2 separate regions of the Homo sapiens genome follow, and region 1 is linked to region 2. Evidence: promoter capture Hi-C in human tissues and cell types (Jung and others, 2019). All regions are on one chromosome and are shown on one strand. Each heading gives the region's core, a stretch centred on a gene start or on the middle of the fragment in contact. The rest is flanking DNA. Distances are from core to core; before and after follow the strand shown.

Evidence for each region. Contacts are between HindIII fragments. The study calls those that stand out against the background at their distance.
Region 1: a fragment that was not itself captured here is called in contact with the fragment with the promoter of PREB in region 2 in 1 of the 25 tissues and cell types used here (liver).

The regions. Positions count from the first base shown.
Region 1 is chr2:27,004,106-27,007,216 of GRCh38, reverse strand. All of the region lies in intron 1 of MAPRE3 (microtubule associated protein RP/EB family member 3), which reads right to left. The region is part of intron 1 of MAPRE3-AS1 (MAPRE3 antisense RNA 1); the gene reads left to right. Among named protein-coding and RNA genes, the nearest start is that of MAPRE3-AS1, 8.9 kb to the left of the region's middle. The HindIII fragment of the contact is 6,287 bases long and covers 1-3,111 here.
Region 2 is chr2:27,132,718-27,136,196 of GRCh38, reverse strand. PREB (prolactin regulatory element binding) reads left to right here and starts at 1,561. Exons shown (of 9, transcript NM_013388.6): 1 at 1,561-1,910; 2 at 2,476-2,665; 3 at 2,860-3,080; 4 at 3,274-3,354; 5 at 3,470-3,479. The coding sequence starts at 1,776. RefSeq lists enhancers at 1,623-1,672, 1,148-1,804 and a silencer at 1,743-1,842. The HindIII fragment of the contact is 4,836 bases long and covers 409-3,479 here.

The sequences.
Region 1 (3,111 bases), core at 101-2,600, 130 kb after region 2:
AAACCTTTCTACCTATTTGTACATGCAAGATATAGACGAACCTTTGGTGTTATGACTCAACTTCAAGGTAAAGGAAAACCAGAATATGTCACCCCAAAATATGCCTATTTGACTTATTTTTGAGCTAAAAGTAATTAAAGAGCAGCAAATAGAGGATGAGCTCTATTCTCCTGCTTTTCTGCCTAAAGACAGGATATAAATTCTTCTTTACTGGAGATAGTTCTTATCAGCCCAGACACAGCACCAGAGGAATCTGTAAACAAACCTTACACCATTGGTTTCTTCCCATGTATCTAACTTCCCACAGTTTCCCCCTTTTGGAAGCCTAAAATTGCTTTCTTCTGTCCTGTTATTTCTCTACAAATGTATTGTTCTTTTCTGAAGATGGCATATAAGCCAGAGTTTGACGCCACTGCCTTGAAGTTGCCTTTCATTGGGGTTTCTCCTGCATTCTGTGCCCTCCACACATTAATAAACTTGCTTGGCCAGGCATGGTGGCTCATGCCTATAATCTCAGTGGTTTGGGAGTCTGGGGCGGGAGGACTGCTTGAGGTCAGGAGTTCAAGACCAGCCTGGGCAACATAGCATGACCCCGTCTCTACAAAAAATTTTAAAAAAAATAGTGGGACGTGGTGGCACATGCCTGTAGTCCCAGCTACTTGGGAGGCTGAGGAGGAAGAATTGCTTGAGCCCAGGAGTTCAAGGCTTCAATGAGCTGTGATCATGCCACGGCACCCCAGCCTTAGTGACAGAGTGAGACCCTGTATCTGAAGAGAAAAACAAAATAAAAAAACTTTGCTTGTTTTTCTTTTGCTGATCTGTCTTTTGTTACAGGGGTCTGTCCCAACTATGAACTTATGAAGGTTAAGAAGAAATTACATTTCCTCCCCAATAATGGGAATTATCAGACATCAATAGTCTACTAAGTCTCTCTTCACCCAATGGCAAAGCCTACTTGTCTAATAGCCACAGCAGCTAAGCTAATGGCTTCCACACACTTGTTTTTTTTTTGTTTTTGTTTTTGTTTTTATTTTTGAGACGGGGTCTCGCTCTGTCACCCAGGCTAGAGTGCAGTGGTGCAATCTTGGCTCAGTGCCAGCTACGCCTCCCGGGTTCACGCCATTCTCCTGCCTCAGCCTCCCGAGTAGCTGGGACTACAGGCGCCCGCCACTGTGCCCGGCTAATTTTTTGTATTTTTAGTAGAGACGGGGTTTCACCGTGTTAGCAAGGATGATCTCGATCTCCTGACCTCGTGATCCGCCCACCTCGGCCTCCCAAAGTGCTGGGATTACAGGCGTGAGCCACCGCGCCCGGCCGACACACTCTTGGTTTTAAGGTCTCTTTTAAATTTGATGGTCCTCCATGCTGTACAATATTTGTTGCTCACTGAAAATATACAACAATTCTCAGCAAGTAGGGTTGCCACCAATGAAATCCCATTACTTTCTCCCTCACCTATTTCTATTCATTATAATAATACTTTGACTCCTGCCACTCTCCCTTTGGATGTCATGTTCTCAATGAGGCCATTTGGCCCATTGATTCTGCCCTAGGAGGAAGAGTTAGATAATTAATTCAAGGAAAAGGAAAACTGTGCCTTAATTTAGGAACCAAAACCCTAACCACTCAAGGGAGTTCAGTGTTGCTTTCTTTCCTCCTCGAGCCTTTGCAGTTCATGCTTTGCAGAAGGCCTGGAAAGTAGGGAGAATCTTACAAAATGTGGGACTGAGGATTTGCTGCAGAGCACTATGAGATGTGAGAGAGGTCAAAGATGACCCCAAAGTTTCTTGCCCAAGCCACTGGAAGGATGGAGAAAACTGCAGGAAGAGCAGGTTTGAGAGTGCAGTGAAGACCACGAGCTCACTTAAGATTATGCTGTGGACACTTCAAAGAATAATTAAGGATATTAGGAAGCATCATCTTCCATGGGGCATAATATTCCATGCTATCCTTACATTAGCTTTAGTTGCTGGGCATTTTGATTTTTGATAGTCCTGGAATTAATATATTTGAACATTCAATTTTTGTCTAAATCTGTGACTACTTCCTTGGGCAGGGAATTACTGGGTCAAAGGGCATGATATATTTTTTAAGGACTAACAGCTTCCATAAAGGCTGTACCTTTCATTTTTTCCCCAGAAGTTTATGAGTGCTCATTTCAACACCAACATTGTTATTATTTTAAAAAGTGTGTTGATTGAAAGAGAAGTATTTTTTTATCTTTAAAATAATGTTTCTTTGATTACTAGTGAGGGAGAACATATTTCTATGTTTATTACCCATATATATTTACTCTTCTGTGAACTGTTTTGGGCTGTCGAGTTTGAGAACCCACAAGTCATCTGTGTGCTCATGTCTAACAAACATCCGGAAATCCTGCTGAGGAATTCTCACCATTCATGCCTTCTACTAAAGATCTAGTATCCTGGGATAAATCTGTACTGATCCCAGACATATCCATGGCATTTACTTTTTTTTTTTTTTTTTTACTAGATCCTTGATATTCTAGTAATTTGCTCTAAACATGAGATACTAGAAAATATCCTTATCAGAAGGTTTTAGCCTAGGCAACATAGTGAGACCCTATCTTTACAAAAATAGAAATTAGCTGGGCATGGTGGCGCATGCCTGTAACTCAGGAGTGCTGTTGCCATACTCCAGCTATCATGAAATGTATTTCGACGTGGAAAAAGTGGGAGTTTGGTAACAATGGGAAAAATTCACATCACCAGAGAACCAAAACAAAGCTAGACATTATCCAAGCTACTCTCTTATCATATTTTTGCCTAGAAAATGAGGGGGAGGAGGAAGGGGCTAAGAAGTGGAAAATGACTTAGGCTTTCCCAAGTTTTCTGCTAAAGATAGGGGAAATAGAGAATTCAGAAAGTAAACTTTAATTGCACTACCTAAATAGTAGCCCTGTGGTGTATTTCCTAAGAAATAAACAGGCACATTGAGCTATGTGGACGGGCAGCATGGTGCATGAAAAAGGTGGTGAAAAGGACTCCACAGCACCCAACTCCAGCTCTGCCTCTCACGACCTCCCAGGCATGAGAGATCCTCTGGGCAAAGGCGGCCTCTCTTTGCCTGAGTTTCTTACAGTAAAATAGA
Region 2 (3,479 bases), core at 312-2,811:
CAGAGCGAGACTCCGTCTCAAAAAATAAAAAAGACCCTGGAGGGTGGTGTCAAAGGAAACGGAGAGGCCAGAAAGAGCAGGTGCCATGTATCCAAGGAGGACAAGGGACCCACAAGGCCTGGGGACTTGAGATATGCAGAGAGCTTGGCCAGGCCCTTCACACATCTAATTCAACTCTGTGGGACAGATATTGGCATCCCCAAAGATGAAGCCACTGCGCTATTCCTCTGGGTGCACCTTAGGTTAATGAGAATGCAGGAGAGGGCGTCTCTTTGCAGGGAAGGACATCCCTTGTGCTCGCTCTCAGGAGTGCACAAAGGTCCTCATCAGATCAGAAACCCGAGGGAGAATGGAGTGTCAGGCGCAGAAGATACCTGCCCGGGAGCCAAACTGCCCCCTCTGAGGCCAGCAAAGCAGCTGGCCACCCACCAAGCCACCAGCCCAGGAGTGTGAAGCCTTGAGAAAGGGAATGGCAGACACCACCCCTGCCAAAAGTGGGCGATAGGCGTTAAGGATGACAGACGTGTCCTCATACGAGGAAGCAATGGATTCAGCATTTGAAGTCAGGTTTATTTTTAAGTTCATGCTGCCTCCGTTAAGAAGCAAGAGACTCCGGTGGTTTCTGGTGTGTGCCCTCGGGCAAATCACTTCCTCTCTGAGGTAAGATGCAAAGGCCTGTGCTCCTAGGAGTTGGCATATCACTCCTCAGATGGGAACAGTCCTTATTTGAGGATTTTATGTGTGTGAGAGACAGGGTCTAGCTCTGTTGCCCAGGGGCTGGAGTGCAGTGGTGACATCACTGGTGGTCCAGCGCAGCCTCGACCTCCCAGTCTCAAGTGATCCTCCCGCCTGAGCCTCCTGGGCACCTGGGCCCACAGGTGCCACGATGTTTGGCTAATTTTTAAATATTTCGTAGGGACGGATCCCCATGTTGCCCAGGCTGTCTCGAAAGCCTGGGCTCAAGCCATCCTCCTCTCTCGGACTTTCCGAAAGTGTTGGGATTACAGGAGGATTACAGGCATGAACCACCGTGCCTGGCAGAGGATTTTTTTTTTTTTGAGACGGAGTTTCACTCTTGTTGCTTGTTGCCCAGGCTGAAGAGCAATGGCAATGGCGCGATCTCGGCTCACTGCAACCTCTACTTCCCAGGTTCAAGTGATTCTCCTGCCTCAGGCTCCCGAGTAGCTGGGATTACAGGCGCACGCCACCACGCCCTTTGTATTTTTGGTAGAGACGGGGTTTCTCCATGTTGGTCAGGCTGGTCTCGAACTCCTGATCCGCCCGCCTAGGACTCACAAAGTGCTGGGATTACAGGCGCGAGTCGGATTTCTTTATTAAAGGTTGACCTTCATCAACCTCCATTGGCTCCACCTCCTCCGCCCGCGCCCCGCGCCCCGCACAAAAATGGCGAAGTCGGTGCTGGGCGACTCTGCCTCCGCGCCAGGGGTGGAGAACCGAAGCCCCGCCCCGGGAAACGCGGCCCCGCGGCCGGCTAGTGCTGACGCGTGTCGGCGCTCCTGCGCCTGCGCGGAGGGAGCCGCGAGACAGGTGCGCATGCGCAGTGCGCGTCTGCGAGACCGACTTGGACGGAGCCGAGCTGAGGCTCGGCTTCCTGCTGATGGTCAGGGTTTTGGCAACTCCCCGGTGTGAGAGGGGTAGGGAGTGCTCCCGGCGGCGACGGGGCCGAGTTCACCAGCCGCCGGGGCAGTAGTCGAAGGCCCGGCGCGGCATGTCCTGGGTGCCGCGGTGCGGGCAGTGAACGCGCGCCGGGCGGGATGGGCCGGCGCCGGGCGCCAGAGCTGTACCGGGCTCCGTTCCCGTTGTACGCGCTTCAGGTCGACCCCAGCACTGGGCTGCTCATCGCTGCGGGCGGAGGAGGCGCCGCCAAGACAGGCATAAAGAATGGCGTGGTGAGAGCGCAGGGCCACTGGGGCTGGGTCTTGCTGCGGGCTGGCGGCGATTCCAGGGTGGCCGGGGGGTCGCGGGGCGGGCCACACTCCAGCTTCGGGCCCTGCCCACTTCTGTTGGGAAGACCCGCTTGCCTGACGCCCAGGGGCGAATTTCAGTCGAGAACTCAGCGGGCGGAGGAGAGGCTTTTAAGGTAAAGTGAAAACTGCACACAGCTGCAGAGTCGCCAGGAACGCTTCAGCTCCGCCTCAGAGCAGCTCCAGGGGTCTTATACTGGCCTTTTCCGGGAGGTCTTGCCTGCCCTCTAGCAGCGGCGAGAGTGGTGCATTTGGGTTTAGGCTAAGTTCCTTCCCTCTCCTGAGCTTCACCCTGTTCTGTAAAATAGAGGTAATAATCCCAGTCCTGCTCACTGTGTAGATTTGTGAGGCCCAAATGAGAGAAAAAAGACTCGAGAAACCCTTGTGAACTAGAACGTGCAGAAAGCAAAGGGGTAAGACATCAGACTCTTCCCTAAACGTGCTCTCTGGGCACCCCTGAACTTGCTCATCCGGGTTCCCCCTCCCACAGCACTTTCTGCAGCTAGAGCTGATTAATGGGCGCTTGAGTGCCTCCTTGCTGCACTCCCATGACACAGAGACACGGGCCACCATGAACTTGGCACTGGCTGGTGACATCCTTGCTGCAGGGCAGGATGCCCACTGTCAGCTCCTGCGCTTCCAGGCACATCAACAGCAGGGCAACAAGGCAGAGAAGGCCGGTGAGGAGCTCCCTCTCTACCCCCTTGGGGAAAGGGTTGAACGAGTAAGGTCACTCTTGGTGTCTCTAAAGAAGTGGGTCTGGAAGTAGGGTTTTGGTAGCAAGCTAGAAGTTGTATGGGCACCTGCCATGGAGAGAGGGGCCAGTACTCCTTACTGTAGAAGCCTGGAACCTGGCCAAGTGTTTGTGTTACAGGTTCCAAGGAGCAGGGGCCTCGACAAAGGAAGGGAGCAGCCCCAGCAGAGAAGAAATGTGGAGCGGAAACCCAGCACGAGGGGCTAGAACTCAGGGTAGAGAATTTGCAGGCGGTGCAGACAGACTTTAGCTCCGATCCACTGCAGAAAGTTGTGTGCTTCAACCACGATAATACCCTGCTTGCCACTGGAGGAACAGATGGCTACGTCCGTGTCTGGAAGGTGTGGGTTTGCAGGGTTAGGGAGGGTGAATGTCAGTAGCAACAGGATCAAAATTGTGAGAAGTTGAACGTGGCATCTGGGAAACTTGTGAATGAAGCTTGCATTGAGGGGCCATTAGAAGGGGTGGCGTGGGCATCAGTCACAGTGTACTTGCTGGACACCTGAGTTAACCATGGTGGTTGTTTGGCTACAGGTGCCCAGCCTGGAGAAGGTTCTGGAGTTCAAAGCCCACGAAGGGGAGATTGAAGACCTGGCTTTAGGGCCTGATGGCAAGGTGAGGGGCTGGGGGTGGGAGGAGGATGGAGAAAGGAGAGAGGAGGTGCTTATGCTGCTTGCCCAGTAAGTGGATCCCCTAACTGTCCATCCTTGGAATCTTTATTCCTAACTAGTTGGTAACCG